2 separate regions of the Homo sapiens genome follow, and region 1 is linked to region 2. The links are contacts of gene promoters, found by promoter capture Hi-C in blood cells and fetal thymus (Javierre and others, 2016). All regions are on one chromosome and are shown on one strand. The core of a region is centred on a gene start or on the middle of the fragment in contact, and the rest is flanking DNA. Distances in the headings are between cores, read along the strand shown. Region 1 overlaps ANK2 (ankyrin 2). Region 2 holds the start of UGT8 (UDP glycosyltransferase 8).

What was found. The method cuts DNA at HindIII sites, captures the fragments that hold promoters and counts their contacts. A CHiCAGO score of 5 or more calls a contact.
Region 1: a fragment that was not itself captured here is called in contact with the fragment with the promoter of UGT8 in region 2 in 1 of 17 cell types (endothelial precursors); the score reaches 5.9 in endothelial precursors.

Annotation. Positions count from the first base shown.
Region 1 is chr4:113,206,767-113,213,993 of GRCh38, forward strand. All of the region lies in intron 4 of ANK2 (ankyrin 2), which reads left to right. It also overlaps the pseudogene RPS26P25. Among named protein-coding and RNA genes, the nearest start is that of MIR8082, 58 kb to the left of the region's middle. The HindIII fragment of the contact is 3,235 bases long and covers 3,057-6,291 here.
Region 2 is chr4:114,593,566-114,600,231 of GRCh38, forward strand. It overlaps UGT8 (UDP glycosyltransferase 8), which reads left to right and starts at 5,242. Exons shown (of 6, transcript NM_001128174.3): 1 at 5,242-5,409. The HindIII fragment of the contact is 2,701 bases long and covers 3,639-6,339 here.

The DNA of each region.
Region 1 (7,227 bases), core at 3,424-5,923, 1.4 Mb before region 2:
TAATCCCAGCACTTTGGGAGACTGAGGTGGGTGGATCACTTAAGGTCAGGAGTTCGAGACCAGCCTGACCAACATGGTGAAACTGCATCTGTACTAAAAATACAAAAATTAGCTGGGCTTGGTGGTGGGTGCTTGTAACCCCAGCTACTCAGGAGGCTGAGGCAGGGGAATCATTTGAACCTGGGAGGCAGAGGTTGCAGTGAGCTGAGATCGCTGCACTGCACCCCAGCCTGGGCAACAGAGTGAGACTCCATCTCAAAAAAAAATTGCCAAGAAAGACATTACTATTCTCTATTCCAGTAAAAAGCCAACACTAAAATTACTACTCTACAAAGCGTGCACACGCACACACACACACACACTCCCACATCCTAAAAGACAATAATATTTTCATTTATAATAAAGTAATTTTTCAACTTTTGAAATAAAATTAATACAATTATATTTTGCCTTTATGCTCATTTATCTGGGGACAGATGGTATGGAAAGGCTGAATCCTGCTTGTCATTTTATTCTGAAATTTGAATGAATAATCGAAGACATCATCACATCTAAAATCTTCGGTAGATGTCTCATTTATTTATCACTACACAGGCCTATCCAAGTCCAATGTTATTGCATTTTAAAGGAACTAAATTTGTAGTCAGTTAAGACTTGTAGGGAGAAAAGTAAATGGTCTCCAAGTTCTGTTAATAGAAATAGACTTCAAATTTTACATAAGAGTTACTTCTTTTTCTCCCCTTCTGAGTTAAAATGAAAGATAAGCTACTCTGGTAGTAAATGGTTAAAATAGTACTGTAGCATTCTGCTTCTTACCTCAAATCTAACAGCATTAATGTGTATATTCCACAACAACTAAGAAGCTAGGTGAAACCATCAAGAACCAAAATGGTGATCCTTTGAGGCAAGGATCACAAAGCAAAAAAAAAAAAAAAAAAAAGAAGAAGTAAAAACATGACACGAATTAAACTTTCCAATAGAAACTGATTGGAAGTAATAATTCACGCACTCACTCACTCAGCAGGTATTTGGGCATCCAGTGTGTGCCCTCGAACACTTGCTAAGCCTACAATGATGAGGTGGGCAGGGGGCATGCGGAAGAAGACCTAGGAAGTGGTAACTGAACTTCTTTTATAAAAGAAAGTGTTAATGCGCACATCAGCGGTCAGGGGATGAAGTGTGCTATGGGCAAATACAATCATACATGCAAGAACCTAAAAGAAATGGGCTATCTGGAAGCTGAAACATCCAGGGGAAATGCAGTGTATGAAATGAAGCCTGAGGAAGAAAGTCAGATCCTGAAAGATTTTATGAGCCATATTAAGGTTTTCGTTCTAAGACTTGTATCCTAAGCCCAATATGAAGCTGGCTTGGGGGTGGAACAAGCTCAGGATTCTGTTTTGGATTCTGAAAACATGACCCTGGTGCAGCTTGGAGAACAAGTCGAAGGGAGTCAGGTGCAATGCAAAGCAAATCATTTGGAGACCGTTGTCATGATCTACTCCATATAAGAGGTGATGTTAGCTTGGAATGGAGTAGTAGTGGTCTGGATGATGGAGAAAAGGGGACTGTTATAAGACTGATTAAGGACCAGTTTCAGAGCACTTGATGATGATGGCCTATGGGAGGAGAGGAAGACGATAGTGTCAATAGATCTCTCCCTTGCCTAACAGTATAGATGGTAATGCAACACTATAATATAAAACAGTGCATAAAGACAAAGATTTGTTTGTTTATTTTATTTTATTTTTTTTGAGATGGAATCTCACTCTGTCACCCAAGCTGGAGTGCAGTGGCATGATATAGCTCACTGCAGTCTCAAACTCCCAGGCTCAAGCAACCCTCCTACCTCAGCTTTCTGAGTAGCTAGGACTACAAACATGCACCAACATGCTGAACTAATTTTTTAAATGTTTTGTAGAGACAGGGTCTTGCTATCTCGCCCAGACTGGCCTTGAACTCCTGGGTTCAAGCAGTCCTTCCACCTCCACCTCCCAAAGTGCTGGGATTATAGGCATGAGCCACTTTGTTTCTGGTTTTGTTTTTGGTTTTGGTGAGGAGAGTAAGAGATCATGAATAGCATTTGAACTGCTTGTTATACATCCCTAAAAGAAATATAAGTGGTTATTACATCATTTGATGTAAATGGTTATTAAAGCAGTGGACTCGAATGAGACTGCCGGAGCAGTAAAGACAGTGAAGAGGCAAAGGGCATACTTCCCCTTCATCCTCTGAAGGCTGGCTAAAAATCAACTAACAGAAAGGCAGATTAATAGGAGAAAAGGAATACAAATGGATTAACATACATGGGAGCCATACAAAACTATAACAACTCAAATAAATGGCCAGATGATTGACACTTTTATACCATTTTGAGGATACAGAAAGAATAGGGGCCTGGAGCATGGCAAAACAAGTTATGGGAGGGGGAGAAGGCGAGGTCTAGCTAACAAAGGAGGTCTTGCTATATAGATGAAACCTCACCAGTAGTAGTAGCCCTTGGAGAAAATAGATGGTGAATGTTTCTTTCAGACCTTTGAAGATGTCAGACTCTCAGTTCACTTTTTCTAGATCCAGACAAGGGAGGGCCCACAGAGAAAGCCTGGCTGCATCAATGCAGATTCTCTACAGATGCAAATCTCCCCCACAGGACAGCTTTGCAGGGCTACTTCTTTTTGTAGGCCCTCTGAACGGCCATCTCAAAATATGTCAAAGAAGAATATTTGTTATCGAACCAAACTGGGGCCCACTCGCCCTGTATAGCAATACCAGATATCCACACCAAGGTTTTCAGCGGGAGAAAGGAAGGTGTTTATTGGCAGGGTGCCTAACAAGGAGGATCAGGCAGCTCATGCTTAAATCCTGACCTCCCTGATGGCTTGCAGGTAAAGATTTTTAAAGGCGGGGGTAAATTTCAGAAAGCAGAAGTTACAGGCAAAATTGTAAATCAAAACATGGAGGTTCCACATTGGTTTTGGCCTAAAAGGTCAGAGTATCTTGAAGCGGAGGACTTACAGGTCACAGATTTTCTGATTTGCAGTTGGGTAAGGAAGAGAAGCTTTGTTTAAAAATGTAGGGTCAGCAGAAAAGAATGTTAGCCTGGGTTCATGGGCATGACTTTTTTCAGGCCCCTCAGGAGGAAGTGTAAAACAAAGAATGTTGGCCAGAGTTCAGTCCTCCGTTCCCCCTTACCAGGGGCTTCTGTGCCAGCAGATCTATTTGGTGGGGGTCTGGGTTTCTGAGACAGAACTCAGAGACATATGTTAAGATGTTAGCTTTTGTGCCTATAGGGGAACCAAACATCTTGTGATTCTAGCTTCCTTGGCTGCTATTACCTTCTTGCTCATCAAGTTTCTTATTTACTTCTCAGGGTTAGCTACATGCCTGGAATTCCCCTTGAAGGAACTCAAGATTTTCCTTTATTTCTATGCTTGGGGAGCCTGCAGGTCCCTAAGAGGGGATCCCTGCTCTGTCTTCTATTTTGGGGATAAAATATTTTGGTTTCCTTTACCAGCAAGAGATAGAAGAGGGTTTATGTTTTAGGGACAATTTTCACATTGAAGAAAATAAGATGAAGAAAATTTGAGGCATATGTCAAAAAAACTGAAAAAGTTATAATAATTGACCAGAGGACTTTGGGTCCTTAGTATAAAATGAGTAAAAAGTAGCAGGCTTGGAAGAATTAAAATGAGAGCTAATCAAGTCCAGTGATATCAGCATTTGATTTAAACCTGGACTGTCTTCAGTTTAGCACTGGTTAGAAGCAAGAATCCAGAGTCAGATAAACTAGATTTAAGTACTGCTTCCATCACTCACTAGCCTTGTGACCTTGGACAAGTTATCTCCCATTTCTGTGCTTCAATTTGCTTATCTGTAAAACAGGTAAGGAATAATTACAGTACATAAAATTGAGTTTTTGTGAGGGTTGAAAGAAATAATTATGTAAAACGCTTAACACAATCCTTAGCATATAGGGGCACTCTACGTTAGTTGCTGTTGTTATATTTATTATTTTCATTGTTAGCTTCATGAGCATGGGAAGGCTATTATACTACCTTTGTGGGAAGCACGAGATCAGTTTTTGTTGGTTCTTTAGGTCCTGAATTACTTTCCCTCCCTATTTATTAGATTTATTGATTCTTAGGAATAAGAGGACAAGGAAATCTAAATTCATTCAAATAATTCAAATCTAAATTTGCATTCAAATAAAGAATATTGCACTCAAATAAAGAATATCAGAAAGAAGCAGAGGAGAGCAGTGGAAATAAGTATTGCTCAACAAAATCTATAAGGACTGTTGATAGAAACCTGGTAACTTAACTGATGGAGAAGAGAGATGAAGAATAAACCAAATTCTATACATTCAACTGTATCAAGATAGTCAGATCAGAGATTTGGAACTTCTATTCACAGACAATTATAATCTGCCAGACTAGGAAAGGATTCTTGCATCAATGTGAGCACAATGTATCGAGCTAATGATAATTTGTGCATCATTCTTGTTCATAACTCACTAACATTTGACAATTGGACCAGGTGCAAAGGCTTGAGAGGTGGCAGCTCTTTTCCTTCTTTCACGTAATGTGCCATTGATTAATAATCAAACAGCTTGCATTTTGGAGTAAGTCTCCACAGACAACATCATCTAAGATGGATGTTTTGGTGTTCTTCCTATTTCTTGAAGTTTTTTTTAGAAAGATCTCAACCTTCTAGGTTAGCATTGTGCATTGTGTTTTGACCAAAAATTGTGGAAGCAATAAAATGTAGATAGTGTTTTAACTATTTTGAAGACAACTTTTCCGTAAACAAATGCAAATATTTTGCTTTACTTGGGGGGTGTGAGAGCCTCTTACATTCTTCACATATTATACTCTTAACTAAATCACTTCAGTGTATAACTGGAAGGGGCTATTAGAGACATTGTGTCCATAACACTTATTACAGGAATTTGAAATTCACAGGGTCAAGTGTCTCATCCAAATTTGTGTCTTCTGATATCTGGCTAAATACTCCATATGTTTGTAACATGAATATATTCTATTTTAAGCAATCAAAACAATGCAAAAGTATATGGAGAACAAACCTAATTCTCCATTCCCAACTTTCAAGTACAATGGCCTTTCTCAGAAGTATTTTTTTTGTTCCTTTCTATACAGTTAAATTCTCTTTATGCTATATTATCTTGCTTTATAAACAATTACATCTTTACTGCTCCTTAATGGAGTTCTCCAGTTATATATGTCTAAAATCCTGAAAAGCGTGACAATATTTATTGACAATATTTTATTACAGCTTAATACATAATTTGCATAGATGTCAGGCATTGCTTTCTTCATTTTATACAGAGGAAACTGAGAGTTTAGGTAACTGCCTATGTACCAAAAGTGATTTGATTTAAACCCCAAACTTTGATTAATTACATAATCATTCTTGAAAGATGAAAATTGTAATCTGTATTATATCTTATTTTTTTCAAAGTTTTCATATTTGGTGCAATTACTAATAACTTTTTTTCAGATATTATTCTTTAGTGTTTATTTCCTTTCTTAATTGGGAAGATATGCAAAGCCCAGTAATTGACTAAACATGGTAAATATAAATTTGAATGCATGTACAATACAGTTAGCTATAGCTATTAATACCTATCTATGTGTAATAATTGGAATCCTCTGGTTATTTCTACTCTTTATTTCTACTCTTAAAGCTATGAAGAAGAAGTTTTTAAGACTTTAAAATGGCCAGCGATCTCTTTTGACATTGACTGAGGTAGGCAGCATAGTGAAATGGATAAGAACGCAAATTCTGAAGCTAGGTGGTCAAATCCCAGAGGTCAAATTTCAGCTCTTCTGCTTTCTACTCATGTAACTCATGAGCTATTCTGCTTTCTACTCATGTAAATGTGTCTCAGAGTTCTCATCTGTGATAGGGGGATCATAATAACAGTACCTTCAGCAAACAGTTGTTGTGAGATTAATCCATGTTCGGCATTTAGAACAATGCCTGGCAATTCTAAGAGCTCAATGACTGTTAGCTGTCATTGTTACCAAATTCAGCACTAGTGCAGCCATGCAAGACCAGCCATTCTGTATGCCCACTGCTGCCTTTTCTTGGCACAATGAAGAACATAACAAAGTCAGTTTGTGTGACTGGCTTGTTTCACAACCTCCTTAGAACACTGTCAATTTGAGTATATGAAATTGCATTCACCTAAACACAATGCCTAAAGACCCTTAAGTAATTTAATTGTTAAAACACTTATAGTATAGACATTGATCTCCTACTGAGACTTGAAGCTTCAAGCTAATGGGAAAAAGAATGAAGATTCTCATCTTAGATAGTCTGGATGGTGAAAATAGAAGTCCAACTAACAAAATGTGTTTTAACCAAATATTATTTTTGAAAATCACTTTCAGAAGGTAATTCTAAGTCTGGAAAATTCTAAATGGAATATCACAAACCTAAAATGTATTGTGTTTACATTTGCTTGTGTCATAATAGTAAAATGATTTTTGAAGTGTCTATAATATAATATACCTTAGAACAAAGTATCAGTGAAGCTAAAGTCACAAGTTTAAAAATGTGAAGAACCAATTTTAAGCTGCTATTTAAAAGATATCTAATGTTCTTGATTATATGGGCTAGGTTTCTATAAATGTAAAGTTCCATGCAACACCTGCTATTTGGGCAAATACTATGTGGGCAGCTGTCTCAAATATAAGTCTTGAGAAGGGCTAATAGGTCATACTTTTATGGGTCAGTGTAGTGTTCCCCTATAATATAAATCTTTGATTCAATATTTTAATATTCAAGTGATTCATTAATATATGCAAATAATTTACATTGATTTAATTTAAATTTTAATCTGCAAATATGCCCTCTGGAATCAGCCCGATATTCCTAGTTGGCTAGTTTTAAAATTTTAAAATTAATTCCAGATTAAATAGATCAATAGATTAAATGTTAATAATTGTTGAAAAGCATCCAACTAGGAATATCAGGTTCTTTGCAGAGGAAACGTTCCAAAAACCACTGCAAACATCAGTATTCTCATTAAAGGCAGTAACAAGAAAAGGATTCCTGTTTGCGATACTATTTGACATTGCAATCAATCCCTAGCCAGTGCAATGAAAAGAGAAAGAGAACTATGAATATAAATGGAAAAAGAAACGACAAAATGCTGTTTTATTTATTTTTTTTTTTTATTTTTTTTTTAAGTACAATTTCCAT
Region 2 (6,666 bases), core at 3,992-6,491:
CCAGACTGGCCTCTTTCATGACTGCACCCACGCCTCCTTGCAAAGTCAGCTTCCCTTCCCGTGAGGGCTGCTGCTAGTAAATCTGCCTTTCCTTAAGCTTCCAATTAGCTTCCTTCTTTGCCTCCTGATCTCGGTTAATGTACACCTTTGTAGCCACTTTAGTAAGCTGAGTATCACTCACGCCTGTGGAGCTTCTAACTTCTGGAATTTATGCCTGATATTTCCCTGGGCCTGCCTTACAAATGCCATATTTACCATGTACTGTTTTTCAGCAGCCTCAGGGTCAAATGGCATATGAAGCCGATAAGCCTCGCAGAGCCTCTCGTAAAATTCACCGGGACTTTCATCTGGCTTCTGGTGGACCTCTGAGACCTTTCTGATATTGGTGGCCTTTTTCCCTCCAGCCTTTATTCCATTTAGGAGTGCCTCTCAATACCACTGCAAACTTTGTGGCCCTTGAGCCTGGTTAGGGTCCCAGCCTGGGACAGCCTCTATCAGAAGTGCTTGTTGTGCATACTGCCTGATATCTCCTGTGCCTGCAGGCTCATTGTTCTCGAGCCACTGGAGAGCAGCTTGTATAACTCTTTGGTGCTCTTCCATATCAAATAATGACAGAAGAAGTTGTTTGCAATCAACCCAGGTAGGATTGTGCATTAGGAAAATGGGCTGCATTAAATCTATAAGAGCCTGAGGCTTTTCTGTATAGGAGGGAGTATGTTGTCTCCTATTTCAGAGATCAGTAGTAGAGAAGGGCTGATAAATGAAGAGCCATTCTCCCCCTTGGACTTCATTCTGTGCATTCAAATAAATTTGTCCCCATGTTTATCGGAGGGACATCTGCATTGCTTGGGCATGACCTGACCTAAGATAGCCAACCTCATCCCCCTGGAATTCCTCCCTTGGGTTTTCAGGTAAGGGCTCTGACTTCTGTCTGCGTGGTGTTGCCTGAGGGATGCTTTCTTCTGAGTCTGAGCCTCCAGAGGCAGCCAGGGCAGCCTCCTGTCTAAGCCTTGCCAAGGATGGATAAATTGGTGCATAGGGGGTAGAGTTTCTAACTCTTCAGATGGGGCCTGTAGGACAGGTTTTTTCTGCTTTTCCTGTGACTCTTTTTCTTTTTCTGATGACTTGCAGTCTCTTTCTATTGTTCCTGGTTTTGTCCAAGCCATTAAAGTCTTATGGTAGGTCTCAAAGCAGGTCTGCAGCCACTTAGGGCGGGTCTGAATTACACTTAGCTGGGAGTCTGTATACGGGAACTGATCTGGGTGCCTGGGCTATTCTCCAAGCCCAGTGACCACCTGAAACACTTGGCCAATTATCTCCTTGTGTATTGTCCCCTCGGCCAGCCACCCTACATTAAAAGACAGCCGGTTTATCTCACAAAAGGTTCTCAGTTTCTGTGGAGTTAGCTTAACCATTTAATCACCATTTAAACCTTTTGTAAAAGTTTTTCAGCATGCACTCCAGTGGAGTAGGCTTTGATGCTTTTCCTCCCATTTCTTCCCTCACGGCATGCTTTCACTGTCACTTTCACTCTTGGATCCACCAGACCAGGTCCTATTATGGGAGGTTCGGATGCTGCTTAGCCAGGAGAGTGCCTTCATTCCTGTTACAGCTAGCTGCAGCCATGGTGGATGCTGCTTAGCCAGGAGAGTACCTTAATTCCTGTTACAGCTAGCTGCAGCCATACAGCTGGTCCTATGGGCTGTATGCAGTGTTCTAGGTCTGGTTTTTCCCACACTCGCCTCAGAGCACACAGTGCATGCTAAGAGATCTGTGCCTCCCCATGTCACACCCCGCATTGGTCTCTCCTGAGACTGTCTCACACACCTCCCCCGTCCCTGAAACTGTTTTCCTTTCTGACTGACGTGCGAGCCCCACCTGCATCTGGTGTCGGTTAGGGCGTGAGTTTTGTCTGAATCAATGGGCCTCTCCCATTGTCCCAACCCCCTCGGGTCAGATCAGTCATCATGCCCTGGGAGATGATCAGGCTCCCCTTCCGTCCTTATGGGACGGGTCTTGCCTTAGGGCCCAAACTTTACCGTGGTTCAGATGGCTGTGCGCTGCTCCCGTGACCATCCTGCAACCCCTTCCACTGGTTCCATTTGTGCTGTCGGGGGAAGGCCCCAGAACGCGGGAGGGCAGTTCTCCTTCTGGGCTGAAACTCTCCTGGTGGTGCCAAGGACCCCAGATCTCCCATGTCCTGGGGCTGTAGCCCACAGGCAAAGGAGACAGAAAATGTTCCCTCTCCAATCCCGGATGAGCCCCCAGAAATGTTACAAGACAATCAAAGACTGGAGAGACTGAAAAAGGTTCAGGAGAGTCTATTAAGGTGATCACCGGCCCAGCCGGACATATGTCCAGAAAGTATGAGCCCCAAACTAAGGGCTTTTCCTACTTTTAAACATTTTAAGGCAGGAACTACATGAGGTGGGAAGCAAGTTACAGAAGCGAGAAACAAAGGCAGTTAATCAAGCATTACAACATTTCTTACATCTTGAGAAAAACATGTCTTGCAACCTAAACTTATTGGTCTTGTGACTGCAGCTGTGCAGGAGCTTGCTGGCCTGTAATAAACTTGAGTAATTTGGAGTTGGGGAGTATAGATAAGGTCCACTGTCCACAGAGACAGGACAGGCTGTTAACATTCTCCTTTAACTTGAGTGTAAGGGGGCAGGGATCACACTTTGCAGAAACTTTAAGAGGATTTTAAAATTTCTATTACTACTACTATTAAGTTACGTTTGATTTCATTAATTTCTTCTTCAAATTCTAGGAAGTCTGATCCCAGAGTTAATGGTGAATGATTACAAAACTTATATAATATCTCACATATGGTTGTTTATATTTTCCAATAAAGTTATATGGGGTGAATAATTATAACAAGTATTTCTGAAAAAAATAACAATTGAGAATACTGATATATATAGTCCACAGAAATAATGAGGGAATTTTAATACCATACTCCACATTGGCTGAAACTTTCTCACTGCAGGCTATGCTGTCCCATTCAACATTCTATAAACTAAAGATGATAGGGAGAATCTTGTTTAATCTGAATGGGAGCTTGAAGGATACATTAAATATGGAAAATATGCATCCTTCCTTAAAGAGAAGTAGCAAATGTTTTCATTATTCATTTATTCAACCACTTAGCCAATAATGTTAACAATTAAAGGTGGGAGCATTAAAAAAAGGAAAAGTGGGGTGGGGCGGTGAAATGAACCTCACTGATTTCTTGCTTTTATCATTTCAAACTCCAAAAGTGTATTTCAACTATTCATATGATGATTGAATAAACTTGTTTTACATTATGGAACACCCTTACTGTGTAGAGCTGTGAGAAATTCAATAATCAGTATTTAATGTGGACAAAAATAGATAGATTAGAGAAACAATAAACATGGACATATCTACACATAATATATACTCCTTTTCTATCCAAAAATCTGACAAAAACCTTACACAATGGTCAGTTTACACCATTTTAAGGACAAGGATGTGGTGAAACAATTTTAAACATTTTTATATAATAAAAGAAAAAAGTTGTTTTAATTGCTAATGATCAAGTTTTTACCAAGAATTTACATATGCATCATCAAACAGTAGCTTGAAACTGAAGCTTGACCTTTGAGAAATAAAGCTTTTAAAGTAAATGTCTAAATTCTCTTTTCTTTATTATGTTACATTTCATTTACTTTAGGTTTTCTAGTGCAATTTAAATAAGAAATAAATAGAGAGTATGGTAATCAGGTACAAAGGCTGTGAAAATATTCCCTGCATTTTGCACAGGGAATATGTTCAAATTCCTAATCTGCAAAGAAGAAAAGTGCATTTTCTTTTTTGAAATGGCATTTGAAGATCTCTCCATCCATGAACATTCTTGAGCATATGGATTTTACAATAACAGCAGTGTATATTAGTTTTTTAATTTATCATTAACTGATAACATATACAGTAAAATATAATTTCCGTTTTCTTATCTAAGGGCAGAAAATCCCAACCTATTTCTGAATCTCACTTTGGAACAAGGACAGAATGACCTGACATGGCATTTTTGATTTCCAACGTTTAAACGCATAACGTTTGTGTGCTATGGAAGCATCTTAGCTTCTGGAATTTATGCTCGACACGAAACATAAACAATAAACAATTCAGTCCACGTTATATAGACATATCTCATATATATATGAGATATATATATATAAAATATCTTACGCACATGCACACTTAGACTTTCTCGGTTTTCATGAAACTCACAATCTACCTCAGGCGCTCAAAGGCACTCGGCCTCTCAGGTCTGAGGCACCACAGAGAGGCTTCCTTGGGCACAGTTGCTTGCTGGTCAAGACGCCAACTTGGCAAGGTTATGCTGCTGGCAAAGGCAGATTCGTCAGAATAAAGTCGCCACAGGCTCAACCAGGCAAATCATGAATGGCCCTTTCAGCAGGAGCCTGAGAGGAGGGATGTTATTCAGCCCAGCAACCCTATTTACTTTTTTTCAGGATCCCCAAACTCGCGTTTTTTAAGGCTTTCCGCTACAAGAGAGCCAGAATTGAAGCCTGGGTTGGCGGCAGTGCAGGTACCTGCTCACCTAAGCATCCCTCTTTTAATTTTCCTAACTCCTCCACCCACTTGCCCAAGTATAACTTTTGAATGGATTCAGCAGAAGTGAGGCAGGAAAGGCAGGAAGATGAGAAAAGGCGCGACATCAACACGCAGAGCTCACTGAGCCGCCTTGATGATAAAAGGCGGGCACAGGGACTACGTGGGTGGTGGCAGAAAGGGCGCGGGACACGCCTCGCAAAGAGGGAAGAGTGGGCGGGGCCACGTGCCGTTGTCAGAGTTCGCAACTCGAGCGCCCAGAGGGCTCGCGAAAAGTCCCAGCCTGCAAGCCAACCTCGCTCAGCGGACGACTGGCCGGATCCCAACGCGCTGCCCCTTGCCCAGCCTGCGAGCGCGTGGTACGAAGGCGCGTCTGCATCCATGCCCCAGCCCGGGGAGCTGGAGGCGCTCGCAGTCAGAGGCGAGTGATGCTAGGCTGAGCGCGTGGCGGCCCGTGTCGTGCCCCGCTGAGCCAAGTGCGGAAGGGCAGCGGCGCGCTCCGACTCTGCTCGCCGCACGCAGGGCGGGGCGCGGCTGGGGGGCGGGGGGCCTGGCCGCCCGCTGGGAGCTGCGGACGAGCAGGCGCGCTGAGGACCCGAGGGAGGACACGGTTAAAGCATTGCTATCAACTGTGAACCCAGAGAGCCCTCCTTAGCCAACACGCTAACTCCGAAGCCTCCCTTACGCCCCCGAACCACCGAAGGCGGCGACACCTGATTCAGCGCACAAACACAGGTCCCTTCTGTCCCGGATACAATTACGCGGCAGACACACACTCAAACTCGCGCGGGGCAGCCAAGAGACGAGGTGAGCGGAGGGACCACGCCGTTCCAGAGGGCGGAAGGGGGGGCGGTCTGGGTGGAGGAGAGGGGCGTTGTTTGCTCCCTGAGGTGAGTGCCGGGCGAATGGCTGCTGTCCAGGGGCGGGGGGGTGGGAATTAGAAAGCACAGACAGGGTTGGGCTGAGGAAGTTAGAAGTGGTTAGTGGGGGTTGGCGGGGTAGGGAGAAAGGCTAGGGGTTGAGGGGGTGTGAAGGAGATCTTTTTAGGCTGGCCCCTCATAGCGCCCGCGATCCTGTTTCTGCCATATGGCATCCGTTCGAGGGTTCTCTCGCGTTTGTGCGCTCAAGGCAGAGGGAGGGTATAACGGGGAGGCGATTCGGCCGAGGACCTTGTACTTGACCCCTGAAGGGATGGGCACCGCGGAGCCCAGAGGCCAGAGCCAGCTGCCAGGGCAGGGATGGAGGTGGGGGACCAGGAGGAGCTTCGGGACCTCTTCAACTCCCCTTTACTCCGTCTTCCCCCTAAGGAGGAACAAGAGCGGGATGTGTTGGGGGTGGGGAATGTCTTGGGGCTGTACAAGCTCGCTGAGACTTTTCGGGGCCCGCCGTTTCCGCGTGCCCGCGCGACTCTCGACAATGGACAGTGTACAGTGGTGGCAGGGTTTCACGGGTCCCCGCGCCGATTTGGGAATGGTACGGGGTGCCCTTGCATTAGAGAAGCCTGTGCGGGCCCCCGGGATTAGAGAAGAGGTGAGCGCCTGCGGGCGGGGAGAGAAGGACGCGCTGCTGGCAAAAAGAAGGGCGCCTTCCATGGACTGGAGGAGCGGCGAGGGAGCCTGGTATGTGTGTTTTGGATTTGAAGGAGGCAAACCGCATCGGAGAGTGCAAGTAGATGCAGTGCGTCGGGGCAAAAGGACAATCTGAGGAGGTGGGCGGGGTACCCAATCTCTATATACAAGCTTTCTGGTTTAATTGAGGGTTTATAAAATTGAGTACGGTAAACCTGCCATTGTGCAGCACTTCCTTAGGAAAGGAATAGCCTCTGTACCTGTACCGCGAGTTCCCATCACCTTTCAGCATCTAGGCGGGGAGAGGAGAGAAGGTAGAGAACTTCTGAGAGAGTTCTGAGAACTAACGCGAATGGCTGGATTGCGCTAACTAGGCGTTCTTAGCAGGAAAATGTCGCCAAGGGAAGGAGTGGGTGGCGGTATCAAACCAGGCGTGCTCTGGAGAATCACCTTTATTATGAGCCAGTGTTAGCAGTGACGATAGAGTCTTTTATTT